2 separate regions of the Homo sapiens genome follow, and region 2 is linked to region 1. The links are contacts of gene promoters, found by promoter capture Hi-C in human tissues and cell types (Jung and others, 2019). All regions are on one chromosome and are shown on one strand. Each heading gives the region's core, a stretch centred on a gene start or on the middle of the fragment in contact. The rest is flanking DNA. Distances are from core to core; before and after follow the strand shown. Region 1 holds the start of SREBF2 (sterol regulatory element binding transcription factor 2). Region 2 overlaps TCF20 (transcription factor 20).

Region 1 (7,819 bases), core at 1,773-4,272:
TGCACTGTTATAAACCAGGTCTTCTGGAAGGACAGAGAAATGGAATCTTCTTCCACTGGGATCAAACCTAATGGACCTATGAAGCCACTGAACCACTGTGGTAGTTTCCAGAGGGTGGTAGTTTCCATTTTATTCAGAAATCTGTGGGGATAAAGACAGTATTAACCACTAGGTAATTTAAACTCATTACAAATTAAGACAGGGTCGGGTACAGTGGCTCATGCCAGTAATCCCAGCACTTTGGGAGGCCAAGACAGGAGGACTGCATGTGCCTGGAAGTTGAAGACTAGCCTGGGCAACACAGTGAGACTGGCTCTACCATATATATATAAATTAGCTAGGTGTGGTGGCACATGCCTTAGTCCTAACTACTCGGGAAGCTGAGCTGGGAGGATTGCTTAAGCCCAAGAGTTCAAGGCTGCAGTGAGCTATGATTGTGCCACTGCACTCCAGCCTGGGCAACAGCCAGACACTGTCTCTAAAAAAAATTAGGTGGCTCGGCCAGGCACGGTGGCTCGGCCAGGTACAGTGGCTCATGCCTGTAATCTCAGCACTTTAGGAGGCCAAGGTGGGCGGATCACCTGAGGTTGGGAGTTGGAGACCAGCCCGACCAACATGGAGAAACCCTGTCTCTACTAAAAATACAAAATTAGCCGGGCGTGGTGGCGCATGCCTGTAATCCCAGCTACTCGGGAGGCTGAGACAGGAGAATCGCCTGAACTCGGGAGGTGGAGGTTGCGGTGAGCCGAGATCGCGCCATTGCACTCCAGCCTGGGCAACAATAGCGAAACTCCATCTCAAAAAAAAAAAAAAAAAATTTAGGTGGCTCACACCTGTAATCCTAGCACTTTGGGAGGCCAAGGCAGGAGGATCATTTGAGCCTAAGAGTTTGTGCTATGATTGTGCCACTGCATTCCAGCCTGGGTGACAGAATGAGACCCTGTCTCAAAAAATAACTAAATAAATAAAAATTTAAATTTAAAAATCAGATAAACAAAATAAGACAAATAGGAATTGATCATGGAATAGGAATGCAAAATGCACATGAATTTCTTTCTGTGCCCTTGCAGGTAGGCAGCTATAGACATACAGTACTTTCTACTGGCTGTGTAATCTTCAGTAAATTAATGAACCACCCTGGGCCTCACTTTCAGGATCAGTGAGAGGGAGATGACAAGTATAACAGTTCTCTCTACCTGACAGGGTTGTTAGGAAGATTGAGAACATTAACGTGTATAACTGTTTAACACCGTCTGGCACAGAAGTTCTCAAAACATGTTAGCTGCCCTTGCTATGTTCCCAACCCCCACCTACCCCATCCCCCATTTGTTAACCCATTTCTGTATTTAGAAGCACTTAGCAAAGAGTCTGTGGTTAGAACTGGGGCTTCAATTAAGGGTCTTATCACACTGCCCACATGACCAAAATGGAAATCAAGGACAAACCAAGGGGAGAAATATTACAAAAGCAAAATGGGAAAATGGCAAACAGATCCTTTTCAATTAGCTGCTGCATTTATCTCTTCCCCCAAAAGAGAATCTTCTGCTGCTTCTGCTTCTTCATCTGCACAACGGGGATGTAGCCATCATACATGCCTGCAAGGCTGTAGTGAGATCCTGGACATGAAAGCATTCTGAAAACTGAAAAGTACAATGCACCTGTGTTTCTGCCTAAGCTCTCTAAGGTGAGTGGCCTTAGATAAGTCAACATCTCCTGGCCTCGGCTTCTTTAATTACCGTATTAAAATAGAGGTAATAAGAGTATCTCACAGGATTGTTGTGAGGAAGAAGTGAAATAATACAAAGCATTTTGGGGCCTAAACATAAGAGTGCAACTATCCAGTTAATAAGATTACTAGCCTAGTCAACTGGACTCTTTCTTGAAAGGAGGGGTATAAAAAAACCAATACTGGCCAAGGAACTGCAAGAACTAGGCTCTAACCAGCTGGGTGACCTTGAGCAAGCCGCTGACCCTCTCCAAATCGTTGTTCCCGTGGTCGCAAAATTAGTATTTTAAGAGTGGATCCCTGGGCTCCTACCAGCTCTTCCACTCCGCTGTTAAGGCGCTGGAACAAAGGCCACCCGCTCCCCAGCCCGTACCCGAGGGGCCACAACTCAAAATTTCTTCTGCTCAATTCCCCTTGCAGCGTGACAGCAGGAGCGCCCGGGTCTCCATCCCGGAGAGATGTGTCCACACTCCGCCGCCACTGCTCTCTTCATCAGCAACTTGCTTCTGCAGTCGCTGCCCAAAGTTTCGCGGAGCACCCGGCGACCTGGCCGTCGGTCAATCCTGAGAAGCCCAGGGATTCGGGGCGCGGAGACTGGGGGCTGGGCCCCGGGAATCCCAAAGACGTCCCCGCGGCCAGGAAGGGAGTGACAGGTGCGACGCGCGGTCGCGGGCGGCGGGAGAGCGGACCACGGAAACCGCGTGTGGGCGCGCGAGGGAGGCGGCGGCCACGCGCTCTCCTTAGGCCGCTCCCTGAGACGCCCCCGCGACGTCCCTAGCCCCGCGCTCTGGAACCCGCGACCCTCGCGCCGCTTTCGGCCCCGCGGCGCCCCAGATCCCACGGCCTCCCGGAGCGGCGCAGCTGGGTCGGGCTCACGCTCGCAGCGCCGGAAGGGTTGAGGACCGCCGGGGGCACCGTGCGCACGGGGTTCTTCCCGCGCGAACCGGGGCTGTCGGGGGGTGGGCGCACGCGCACCCGGGCGCGCCGCCGTAACCCCTTCCTCCCCGCGCGGCCCCCGCACTCCCACCCACCCACCACTCACCGTCGATGTCTCCCAGGGTCAGCTCGTCGCCCAGCTCCGTGAGGGTCTCCATGGTCTCCAGACCACCCAGCTCGCCGCTGTCGTCCATCGCCCGGCTCAGCGCAGAAGCCCCCCCTGCCGTCCCGCTCAGGGAGACGCGGGGGCGGTGCCGTCGCCACCGCCCATGACACCCGACAACCCCCGCCCGGCACCGCCTCACCGACGGGTGCCACCCGCCGCCATGTTTGCGTTGCGCCCGGGCGCCGCACAGAAAGGGCGGGGCGGGATTCCCCCGCCCCAGCCCGCGCCCCCTGCGGCCCCGCCTCCAGGCCGCGCGCCCCCCTGTTTGTTGTCAATGGGACCAGGCTCATCTCAGCCAATGGGCGAGCGAAGCGGTGCGTGGGGTGATGGCGCGTCATCGATCAGCAGCTCAGATTTGCATAGTGAGGTCCCTCCCCCCGCGGCCTCGGAGCGAATGCCTGGAGTAGCCGTCCGGTCATCATCTTAACCTTCTCCGCCTTGTTTAAAGGAGCCGCTGCCTTCTCCGTTGGATCTGCGCCACACGCAAGTCCGTCCACTGGCCTGGGAGTGAAGGGTTAACAGGCCACCCTCCACCTGCGACCGCTGGCCGCCTCCAGGCCTGGCTGGGAGCACATTACGTCATCTTCCCAGCTGCCTACCCCCGCCCTGCCCGCCTGAGAAAGCCAGCGGAGTCAAACCTGGACCCCAGCGCTCGGGACGGGAGTCCGGGTCATCCAAGTCCCGCTTCTCCCAGCCTCCTTACAAAGGCGGGCACGGAGGCTTGACAAGGTTGCAGATTGTCCCAGGGCGGTCAGGATTTTACGTCTTCTGCTTTGCACCCGCCGTGACCTCGCGCTTACTCCAGTGGTCCTCAATCTCTGGCACCTCGGAACCACTGAGGACCTGAAAACCACGCCAGTGCCCAGGCCCACCGACGGCCTCCTGAGAGGGGGGCCCCGGGCACGAGTTTTTTGAAAAAGTTCCACCGGGATTCTGAAGTGCAGCCCACCCACTCCTTCAAGCACCTCACTGCCCCATCTTGCAGCTGGTCGTGTTGTAAACTTCTAGGAATTTATCCAAAGGAATAAAAATTACAAGTGCTTAAAGAAGTGCTGTAACTAGGAAGAAGTGAGAATAAGGAAATGAATATGTAAATTACATCCACACGATGGAATACCATGGGATCATTAAAAATTACGCACACAAATGTATATTTATTAGCAAGAAAAGGCGTTCACAATATATTGATAAAAGGGAAAAGTTGAAGTTTCCTGCCAGTTTGTGAGAGGCAGCTGTTGCTTAGTGATCAATAATTAAGAACACACAGGCTGTGTGGAGGCAGACACATGGATCCACTAATTCACTGTGACCTTGGGTTAATTGTTCTAAGCCTCAGTTTAGTCATCTCTAAAATGGGGATAAAATAGCATCCCTCATAGCTGTGGTTAAGTGAGATTATTTGCACATTCAATTGACAATATTTATTGAACATCTCTGTGGCAGGGAAACAAATGGTTCCTGCCCTCTGAGAGCTTCCAGTCTAGCAAAAAAAAAAATCAGAAATCCCACACCCGTATTAAACATAAAAATAAATTACAGATGATGGTACAAGTGATCAAGGAAAGGTAATGGATGTGATGAAACTAACAAGGGCCCTGACTTGTGCTGTCAAGAAGCCTCTGAAGAAGTGACATTTAAGATGAAACCTAAAATTATGAGAGAACTGCAGCTGTTACAGCCAAAGGGGAAATGATGACATGGACAAAGGCCTCGAGGCAGGAGGAGCTGCTGGCAGCCAGCTCTCGGCATAAGCTTTGGCATACAGTAAGTGCCTTGCATACTGCTGTATTGCAATTGAAAAAATAAGGATCTGGCCAGGCGCGGTGGCTCACACCGGTAATTCCAGCACTTTAGGAGGCCGAGGTGTGCAGATCATTTGAGGTCAGGAGTTGGAGACCAGCCTGACCAACATGGTGAAACCCCGTCTCTACTAAAAATACAAAAATTAGCCGGGTGTGGTGGCGCATGCCTGTAATCCCAGCTAACCGGTAGGAGAACTGCCGGAACCTGGGAGATAGAGGCTGCAGTGAGCTGAGATCATGTCGCTGCACTCCAGCCTGGGAGACAGAGCAAGACTCTGTCTCAAAAAAAAGAAAGAAAAAATACAAAGAGAGTCCGGGCAAGGTGGCTCACGCCTGTAATCCCAGCACTTTGGGAGGCTGAGGTGGGCGGATTGCCTGAGGTCGGGAGTTCGAGACCAGCTTGGCCAGCTTGGTGAAACCCCGTCTCTACTAAAAATACAAAAATTAGCCAGGCGTGATGGTGCATGCCTGTAATCCCAGCTACTCAGGAAGCTGAGGCAGGAGACTTGCTTGAACCCGGGAGGCAGAAGTTACGGTGAGCAGAGATCGCGCCATTGCACTCCAGCCTGGGCAACAGGAGACTGCGTCTCAAAAAAAAAAAAAAAAAAAAAAGAAAAGAAAAGAAAAAATAAGGATCTGTGTGCTCACCTGAAGGTTAAAAACGATGGAAGACCCAACAGCTGGCTGTCAGACATAGTTACAGGAGTAGTGAGATTTGGGGTGAATTTTACTTTTGGAGTGAATTTTACTTTCTTTTTGGCATTTCAGTATTGCTTAAATTACGTTTTATAATGAACGTGTATAACTAATGAGAAATAGATAGTGTCTTATTTTTTGGGAAAGCAAGACAACATTGTTCTCGTCATTGTTCACACACAGGGAGGCTGGTATAGAATACACCAGTCTCACCCTGAAAGACACAGAAAACTAAACCCTGCTCTGGACACAGCACTGAGCAGGAAGGTGCCACCTTCAACTGTGCTGCCCAGTGGCTCTTGCAAGGCCCCTCACACTGGTGTGTGACTGGTACTCTGGGGGGATTCAGCAACAACTCCCATACAACTCACTCTGGCCCAGGGCACCCCCCACAACCCAGAACCTCAGTGACCCCCTCCAGAGGTGGCACACAGCACCTGCTCCCATAGTTCCCCACTGAGCCTGCCCAGAGGGCGTGATGCCTCGCCAAGTGGACTGAAGGGGTACAACTGAAGGCTCAGTAGAAATGGTGGAAGAAGGGTGGCTGGACCCGAACCTCAGGAAGCACTGATATTTTCCCTCTGGCCCTGGATCCCATGTAACTGAACATCTCTTCCAGGTGGTACCTTGCTCTGGCTAGCAGGAGGACAAGGGCTGGCTCTGAGAGGTAGAACAGCTTTTGACAAGTCACTCCTCAGAACCTGAGCTCTTCATCTGAAAAGAGATGGACAGCCGGGCACGGTTGCTTACGCCTGTAATCCCAGCACTTTAGGAGGCCGAGGCAGGCAGATCACGAAGTCAAGAGATCGAGACCATCCTGGCCAATATGGTGAAACCCATCTCTACTGAAAATACAAAAATTAGCTGGTCATGGTGGCAAGCACCTGTAGTCCTAGCTACTCAGGAGGCTGAGGCAGAAGAATCACTTGAACCCGGGAGGCGGGGGTTGCAGTGAGCCGAGATCGCACCACTGCACTCCAGGCAGGCAACAAAGTGAGACTTGTCTCAAAAAAAAAGAAAAAAAAGAAAGAAAGAAAGAAAAGGGATGGATTAGACTGGGTAACCACTATGTTTCGATATCTACCATGGATTGGGCATGTGCTACGGGTCACAGAAGATAATTTTGTATATGGTTTTTCATTTACTTCCTCTGACACTTTCCCCTTTTTCCCACAGCACCTGTCCTTTTCTTCCTCTTCCCCTAATCTTTCAGGATTCAGTTCAGATATTACTTCCTCTAGGAAGCCTTCCAATTGGATTAACCAAAAGCATGTACTCCACTGTTTGACACAGAGATGGGGTTAGAGAGGGAAATAACCAGTTTGGTTTTGGAAACATAAGCGATGAGAATTATCAGGTAGTAACCGGGCGAGTATTCAGCTTTTAGGTCTTAGAGAGTATGGCTGCCCAAAAAGAAAATAGAAACAGCTCCATAAAAAACTTCATGCAAACGGGGGCAGGTGAGGAAAGAAGAATCCGGAAGAGAGAGTCAGCTCAGACTTGACAGCAGAGAACTACAACAACAAGCCTGAGAGAATCACCTCAAGGAGCTGTCAACAGCATCTCTCTGAGGACAGTGATGGGGAAGGGGAGGAAGATGTGGGACTGGAATAAGGAGAAGGGCTGTGGACCAGAGAGGTTTTCCCTCCCAGTGGACATCTGGCAATGTCTGGACACATTTTTGGTTGTCGTAACTGGGGGACTGCTACAGGCACCTGGCAGGGAGAGGCCGGGATGCTGCTAAAATAGCCTACAACACACAGGACAGCCCTCTTCACACTCACACACCCAACGATTACCTAGCCCCAAACGTTAATAGTGCCGCTGCTGGAAAACGCTGTCTTAAAGGATATCAGGGAGCTCACAGACTAGCAGCTGAGTAGACAGGAGCAATGTCCAAGATCACACTGAAAACACCACTGTTGCCACCACTGGGCACCCTGGCACTGGTCACTGGACTTGGCATTAGAGCCACCCCTTCACTGCTGCCCCTGGTACCTGTGACCACTACCGCCACCAGCACGACTCCCACAGTGGTATATGCAGTTGGTAGCGCTATAGTGACCTAACAATCCCAGCTGCAAGAGGCAGCTGGACAAACATGTGCCCTAGGGCCTTTACAGCTCAGGGGGTGGGCTCTGTCTGCAGTAAGACTCAGCAAGTGGACTTCCTGGAGCAAGTGACTATAACAATCAATAGTGGCAGTAAAGGGAGGGAGAGAGGGAGCGAGTGGAGTAGTTCTATTTGTTTCTTTGAAGGTGCCCATTTGAGGGCAGAAAGGACAGGATTAACCAGGTTGGAGAGAGGATGACGGTATTAGAGGAAAGAGCCCAGGAGGAAGGAGGTGCCAGAAGGGGCAGATGAGGAGATAGTTCAAGACCAGGCCCCACTCTTTGGCTCTGCATATATAGCAGGCAGTCAGTAAATACATGGGATGAACAAGGAACCGTCAGAGAAGGGCACACATCACTGAGAAGTCACTTAAATTCCAGG
Region 2 (7,819 bases), core at 3,557-6,056, 420 kb before region 1:
CTACTGTTTTCAGGGTTTTTAAAAAATCAACTTGCTTTCAAAATCAAAATATTAGATTTTAACATTCCAGCATAAATCTTTTTATATAAATAAAACTTTTGTTGATGCTTTTGGTTTTTCATACGCCTATATTTAAGGGGTAAATCTTGAAAATATTACTAAGGAATTGGAATTGACATCTAATTATAGTAGTTGAGATAATATATTTATGTAATCCCTTTTAGAGAAGTTTAATAAATATTTTTCAACAGACAAAGCATTATCTCTACTTTATTTTTTTTTCTATATTTTGATACTAGCCCGTCCTGTATCTGTTGAAGAAGCTTTCTTAGTGATTCGTTAGGAAATTCTCTTTCTGGAACCCAGTGACAGTGCAACTCAAGTAGCGTCTCTACTAATGTGAAGTCACAACACTGATCATGTAGAACTCATGTATCTGATTTCATTAGCAAATTAGTAGATGGTGTAGGTTTCTAAGGAAGAGTGAACTAATGCATTCTCTTTGCTTTAGTTTACATTAAATCATTAGGGAATAGGGAAATAGGAAATTTTTTCTTTTGCCACTTATAAATGAATAAAGCCTTAGTTTTTGTTTTGTTGTTTTTTTCCTATGGCCCCCTGTCACTTGAAGGCCTTAGTTTTATAAACCAGTATTTTGCTTCTCTTATTGACCTGATTCAGTTTATTAGCCTTTTATTAAAATATATACTATATACTTCATAATATTTTATTTTTGTTAAACATTTGACTCTACTAAATTAAATATTTGAAAAAATCTCACTATAACAGTATTTTTATTCTAGAGTTAAAATGGTTGTATGAAAATAGTTATTTTTGTTAAAATAGTTTTATATATAGGGATAATTATATACGTTTAAAAATGCCAAGATTGTTACTCTAGTGTTTCAGTTAAAAAAGCTTTTAAAGGCTGGGCACCGTGGCTCACACCTGTAATCCCAACATTTTGGGAGGCCGAGGTGAGCAGCGGATCATGAGGTCAGGAAATTAAGACCATCCTGGCCAACAAGGTGAAGCCCCGTCTCTACTAAAAATACAAAAATTAGCTGGGCATGGTGGTGCGTGCCTGTAATCCCAGCTACTTGGGAGGCTGAGGCGGGAGAATCGCTTAAACCTGGGAGGTGGAGGTTGCAGTGAGTCGAGATGTGCCACTGCACTCCAGCCTGGCGACAGAGCTGGACTCAGTCTCCAAAGCTTTTAAAACTGTCTTGTGTGTGGATAAAGGTGATTTTTAAGAATATTTTATAAAATATTACCGAAGTTTATGTTTGTAGGTGTTAGCTCTCCCAAAGACTTCTTGAATAGTTGTTTCAGACGGGTTTAGGCCATAATTCTGAAAGAGACAGTTCTTTTTTTTATTTTTTTCTTTTTTTTTTTGAGATGGACTTTCGTTCTGTCGCCCAGGCTGGAGTGCAGTGGTGCTCGGCTCACTGCAACCTCTGTCTCTTGGGTTCAAGTGATTCTCCTGCCTGAGCCTCCCAAGTAGCTGGGATTATAGGTGCGTGCCACCACACCCGGCTAATTTTTTTGTATTTTTACAAAAAAAAATACAGGTAGAGACAGAGTTTCGCCATGTTGCCCAGGCTGGTCTTGAACTCCTGACCTCAGGTGATCTGCCCACCTTGGCAGGGTTTTGCCACGTTGGCCAGGCTGGTCTCAAACTCCCGACCTCAGGTGATCTGCCCACCTCAGCCTCCCGAAGTGCTGGGATTACAGGCATGAGCCACTGCGCCTGGCCTAAAAGACACAGTTCTTGATGCCATAATCCCAAATACTGAAATCCCAAAATATCGAAATCCAAACAATATAATTCTGGAAAAAATAATTTTAAAACATTATTTAAAAAATACTTATTTGGGCCAGGTGCGGTGGCTCACTCCTGTAATCCCAGCATGTTGAGAGGCCTAGGTGGGCAGATCACTTGAGCTCAGGAGTTTGAGACCAGCCTGGCCAACATGGCAAAACCCCGTCTCTACTAAAAATATAAAAATTATCTAGGCATGGTTGCAAGTGCCTGTAGTCCCCGCTACTCGGGATGCTGAGGCACGAGAATCACTTGAACATGGGAGGCGGAGGTTGCAGTGAGCTGAGATCATGCCACTGTACTCCAACCTGGGTGACAGAGTGAGATTCTGTCTCAAAAAAAAAAAAAAAAAAAAAAAAAAAAGACACTTGTTTGGCCAGGTACAGAGTCTCACACCTGTAATCTCAGTATTTTGGGAAGCCAAGGTGGGCAGATTGCTTGAGCCCAGGAGTTCAAGATCAGCCTGGGCAACGTGGAGAAACCCTGTCTCTACAAAAAAATACAAAAATTAGCAAGCTAGCGTGCACCTATAGTCCAGCTACTTGGGAGACTGAGGTGGGAGGATCTCTTGGGTCTGGGAGGCAGAGGTTGGAGTGAGCTGTGATGGCGCTGTCTGGGCAACAGAGCAAGACTTTGTCTTCAATAAACAAACAGAAAAACCACTTATTTACCTTTTTTAAAGGGGATTTATTTGAGAAACAAAAACATGACAACACTTCATAGGCCACTTAATATAGTTTGGATATGTGTCCCTGCCCAAATCTCATGTTGAATTGTAATCCCCAATATTGGAAGTGGAGGCTGGTAGGAGGTGATTGGATTATGTGGGTGGATTTTTCATGAATGGTTTAGTACCATCCCCTTGATGCTGTCCTCGAGACGGTGAGCGACTTCTCGCGAGATCTGGCTGTTTTAAAAGTGTGGCACCTCACACTCTCTCTTGCTCAGTCCTCATCATGTGATGTGCCTGTTCCCCCTTTGCCTTCTGCCATGATTGGAAGCTTCCTGAGGCCTTCCTGGAAGCAGGTGCCACTATGCCTCCTGTACAGCCTGCAGAACTGTAAGCCAATTAAATCTCTTTTCTTTTAAGTATTCCTTCATAGCAATGCAGGAACAGCCTAGTACACCACTTTACACAATAAAATAGTAACAAATGTATTTTGCAAGTTTAATCACTCAGTATACTAACCGTAGTTGCATGGGTGTTACATTTTGTAACTGTGGTCCTCTGAAATACCATGATGGACAAACTAGGTCTTTTGATGAGGTAGTAAAAACAAGGATGGGTCATCACTGTGTGTGCAGTCTCCTGAAGAGCAGAGATATTGTTGAATTTTATCTTTCACAAAAACAGTATAAAAAAAGGACATCTCATTGAAGGTTCACCTTTTTTTTTTTTTTTTTTTTTTGAGATGGAGTTTCACTGTTGTTGCTGAGGCTGAAGTGCAATGGTGTGGTCTCGGCTCACTGCAACCTTTGTCTCCTGGGTTCAGGCGATTTTCCTGCCTCAGCCTTCCAAGTAGCTGGGATTACAGGCGCCCCGCCACCACGCCTGGCTAATTTTTGTATTATTAATTTTTGTAGAGACAGGATTTCACCGTATTGGCCAGGCTGGCCTCGAACTCCTGACCTTGGGTGATCTGCCCGCCTTGGCCTCACAAGTGCTGGGATTACAGATGTGAGCCACCGTGCCTGGCCAGTTTCAACTTTTTTTAAAGAGACCATAGTCTTCTAGCTATGTTGCCCATGCTGGAGTGCAGTGACTATTCACAGGCATGATCATAGTGCACTTCAGCCTCAAACTCCTGGCCTCAAGTGATCCTCCTACCTCAGCCTCCCTAGTAGCCGGGACTGACTACAGGTGCTCCACCACACCTGGCTTCTACGTTTTGATGAACACAGCCAGAGCTTACACATGAAGTCAGTGTTGTGATAATGCACTTCTGTGGAGTTCAGTTTGCAAAAAAAAAATGCATAGAATTAATTAGAACTCTCCAAAAGTCTCTACACAATTTATATCTCCAGTATTAGAAATGATGTGAAGATAAAATATATAGCATAGCAAATTGGCACTATGTGTGAAGGAGCAGAAATAATACACCATTGAATAATTTGGCAGGGGAGATTTCTTGTATTTTTTGCCTGTATTTTCACTTCTGCGATCTTCAAAGCACTTGCTCCAGTTTTATTTGCAAAGTGGTTGTGATCCACAAATTTTGTAAGTATATACTGTCTATTTGAAAGCCTGATTATTGCCTGGCCGTTGCAATTTCTGCTTTTGCAGCACCAGTGATAATTAGCTTTTAAACTTTTATCTTTCGCCATTAAGTAGCCGTGTACACTTATCAGAGCCTTTTTGCGAGGGAAGAGTTTCACAGATCTCTTCAATTGTGCTGTAAAGAATAAAGTAAGAAGAACTGATACTCAGCTTCCCCAACACCAAATCTGCATTAGTCAGGGTTCCCTAGGGAGACAGAACCAATAGGATATGTGTATAGATATGAGGGAATTTATTAGGGGAATTGGCTCATATGATTAATGGTGGCTGAGAAGTCCCATGACAGATCATCTGCAGGCTTGAGACCCTGGGATGCCAGTAGCATACCTCAGTCCAAATCCAAAGGCCTCAGAACCAGGGAAGCTAATGGTGTTATCTCTCGGTCCAAGGTCAAAAAGCCTCAGAATTCAGGGGGCCACTGGTTAAGTCCTGGAGTCCAAAGGCTGGCAAGCCTGGAGTTCTGATGTCCAAGGCAGCAGAAGAAAAGTCTGTTCTAGCTCTCAGCAATTCACCTTCTGTGTACTCCCTGGGCTCCTGGCTGATTGGATGATACCCACCAACATAGAGGGCTCTCCTTGCCTACTCAGACTCGCACACTAATCTCTGAAAACATCCTCACAGACACACACACAACACAGTGCTTTACCAGGTTTCTAGGTGTTCCTGTCAAGTTGATAGCTAAAATTAAGTCCACAAATCTATCCTCGGCAACTTGGTACCCATAGGCATCTCCTTAAACCATACTTAATTTCCAGATAATGACAATAGCAAGGTCATAGTTCCACCTAGCATGGTGTAACTATTGTGTACAACCAAAACTATGCAAATTCCCTGCCCCAAAATTCGGCTTTTGGGATTTCATCATTTGGGATTTTAATCTTTTGGGGTTGTGGTTTTAAACATTAGGGATTTTTAGACTTTAGTCTTTTGGGATTTTAACATTCAGGATTATGGCATTTGGGATTATGATTGGTACTGATTGCAGACAGTTTTTGCTAAATCTAGTGTTTAGATATAGCAGCAAAATAATTTCTATGTATATTTAATCACTGATGTAGTAAATCAGTAGTTAATATTTACAGATCCCTTACCCAGTACCAGGCACAGTGCACGTTTTATATTCATTATTTAATTCTCTCAGAATAACCCAATAAAGTCAGTATTTTATCTGTAAAACGGGGATAAAGAAACAGACTGAAGAGAGATTCATTCATTTGGAAGAGGTTCCTCAGCCACCAAGTGATAGAGCCAGGGCTGGCATGCAACTCTATGTGGCTTCAAAACCTGTTTCTCCCTTTTAGTGTAAAATGTATACTTTGTAAAAATGTACACCATGTGGCTGCTGCTTTCTCCCCACACTGACAGGCTTTCCCTGCCCACCTGAGCCCAGGCAGCGCCCACATGAGTACGTGCTCTCTCCCTCAGCCCTGTTCTCCCTTCACAGCAATTATCTGACAGTCTTGTCTTGTATCTGTTTCCTTCACAAAATGTAAGCACCATGGGATGGAAACTTTGCCTACTCCATCCCTGTCTGCATCCATGTTTCCTAGAGTAGTGCCTGACACACAGTAGGAGCCAACATATTTGTTGTAAAGGCTATGAACCAGAAGGTTGTATCAGTCTACAATATTCACTTTTTAAGTCACTTCTGTAGAACAGACTATTAATTTTTTCTTTCTAGTTAGTGATTTTAAGTGAGGAAATTGAAGAGAGGTGTCTTGAAGAGATGCGGAGGAACCAGTCAAGTAGGAGACAGGTCAAGGCTTGTGGAAGTAGAGATTGGTAGTGGTTTAAATGAGCATGGTGCTGGACCTGCCTGAGCTCTTGTAGCTTCGTGAATAGTAACCTTTCTTCCCCAGTCCCTGGTCTAGTGTCTTCCCAACTACTGCCAGAAAATCTTCTGAAAGGTAGCTCTTGTCGTATCCTTTTCATTTGTGTACTGAGTTAAATTTAGACACCTTGCCTTGGTCTTCAGGGTTCCATGGTAGGACCCTGCCCTGCCTCTCTAACCACATCTCCTGGTTTCCCCAGTTGTATCCTCTGCTGCAGCTCGGTGTCCCCAGAGGTGCCTTTATTTCCAGGTCTGGGTCCGTGTCCTCTTTTCTGTTCTCCATCTTATCTTTTTTTTTTTTTTTTTTGAGATGGAGTCTCGCTCTATCACCCAGGCTGGAGTGCAGTGGCACCATCTCGGCTCACTGCAAGCTCCGCCTCCCGGGTTCATGCCATTCTCCTGCCTCAGCCTCCTGAGTAGCTGGGATTACAGGCGCCTGCCACCACGCCAAGCAAATTCTTATATTTTTAGTAGAGATGGGATTTCACCATGTTGACCAGGCTGGTCTCTAACTCCTGACCTCAGGTGATCCACCTGCCTCGGCCTCCCAAAGTGCTGGGATCACAGGTATGAGCCACCGCGTGCAGCCTGTTCTCCATCTTTTGAGATAGTTATATTTCAAGGCCTTTCTCAAATGTTACTTTTCTCCATGAAATCTAACATTCCCTTAACTGGATGTTTCCTTCATGACGTTTGTAATTTTCTGGTGCACCTTTAATCTTTGCTTTTTGCTTTTTATTATACCTTTCTTTTTTCCTTTTTTTTTTTTTTTTAATTTTTTGAGACAGAGTCTTGCTCTGTCCCCCAGGCTGGAGTGCAGTGGCGCAATCTCGGCTCACTGCAACCCCTGCTTCCCAGGTTCAAGCAGTTCTCCTGCATCAGCCTCCCAAGTAGCTGGGATTACAGGCACCCGCCACCACGCCTGGCTAATTTTTGTATTTTTGGTAGAGATGGCGTTTCACCATGTTGGCCAGGCTGGTCTCAAACTCCTGACCTCGTGATCTGCCTGCCTCAGCCTCCCAAAATGCTGGGATTACAGGCGTGAGCCACCGTGCCCAGCCTATTATACCTTTCTAAATGTGTTCTTGCCCTCCTTCCCCAGTCCTCCCTGAGGGCAAGATTATGGTATTGGCACTTGCCGTATCCTCTACGGTGCATTGAACACATGAACAAGCAATCATTTTAGAGGTAGAGAAAAACACGTACGAGAAAAAGGCAAACAATGGTATTTAGTTTTGGTGTAGGGAAGACTTGTCCTTTTCCAAGGATTAGTTTTGGTGGTCAGGAAGCTTTTTGAAGCCAGGAGAAACAATGTAGGTAAAGAATTAAGTATATTGAGGCCAGGCCTGGTGACTCATGCCTGTATCCCAGCACTTTGGGAGGCCGAGGCGGATGGGTCACTTGAGGTGAGGTAAAGAGTTTAAGACCAGCCTGGCCAACATGGCGAAACCCTGTCTCTACCAAAAATACGAAAGTTAGCTGGGCGTGGTGGCATGCGCCTGTAACGCCAGCTACACGGAGGCTGAGGTAAGAGAATCACTTGAACCTGGTAGGTGGAGGTTGCAGTGAGCCAAGATCACACCAGTGCACTCCAGCCTGGGTGACAGAGTGAGACTCCATCTCAGAAAAAAAAGAAAAAAGAAAAAGAATTAAGCAAATTGGGTCTAGTATTTTAGAGTAGAAGAAAAGAAACCAAATGGGGAAACGACTGAGAAGCACCATTTTTCAGAGTTTGGGGATGAGTCCTAGTACTTGTCCTCAGGGTGTTCAACAGTATTGTGTGGGAAACAGACAACTAGATCATTGATAATACGTTGTAAAAATTTGACCATAGAGCTGGCTGTGGTGGCTCATGCCTGTAATTCCATCTATTCAGGGGCTGAGGTGG

The links. The method cuts DNA at HindIII sites, captures the fragments that hold promoters and counts their contacts. A contact is called where the count stands out against the background at its distance.
Region 2: a contact is called between a fragment that was not itself captured here and the fragment with the promoter of SREBF2 in region 1, in 1 of the 25 tissues and cell types used here (spleen).

What each region holds. Positions count from the first base shown.
Region 1 is chr22:41,828,308-41,836,126 of GRCh38, reverse strand. SREBF2 (sterol regulatory element binding transcription factor 2) reads right to left here and starts at 3,022. Exons shown (of 19, transcript NM_004599.4): 1 at 2,769-3,022. The coding sequence starts at 2,856. It overlaps CCDC134 (coiled-coil domain containing 134), which reads right to left. Exons shown (of 7, transcript NM_024821.5): 7 at 3,963-7,819. It overlaps SREBF2-AS1 (SREBF2 antisense RNA 1), which reads left to right and starts at 1,462. Exons shown (of 2, transcript NR_157279.2): 1 at 1,462-1,684; 2 at 2,147-7,819. RefSeq lists enhancers at 105-604, 605-1,106, 2,897-3,553, 3,159-3,668, 4,495-5,034 and 1 more and silencers at 2,329-2,718, 2,779-3,118. The HindIII fragment of the contact is 7,421 bases long and covers 1,826-7,819 here.
Region 2 is chr22:42,245,859-42,253,677 of GRCh38, reverse strand. The region is part of intron 1 of TCF20 (transcription factor 20); the gene reads left to right. Among named protein-coding and RNA genes, the nearest start is that of TCF20, 21 kb to the left of the region's middle. The HindIII fragment of the contact is 5,575 bases long and covers 2,019-7,593 here.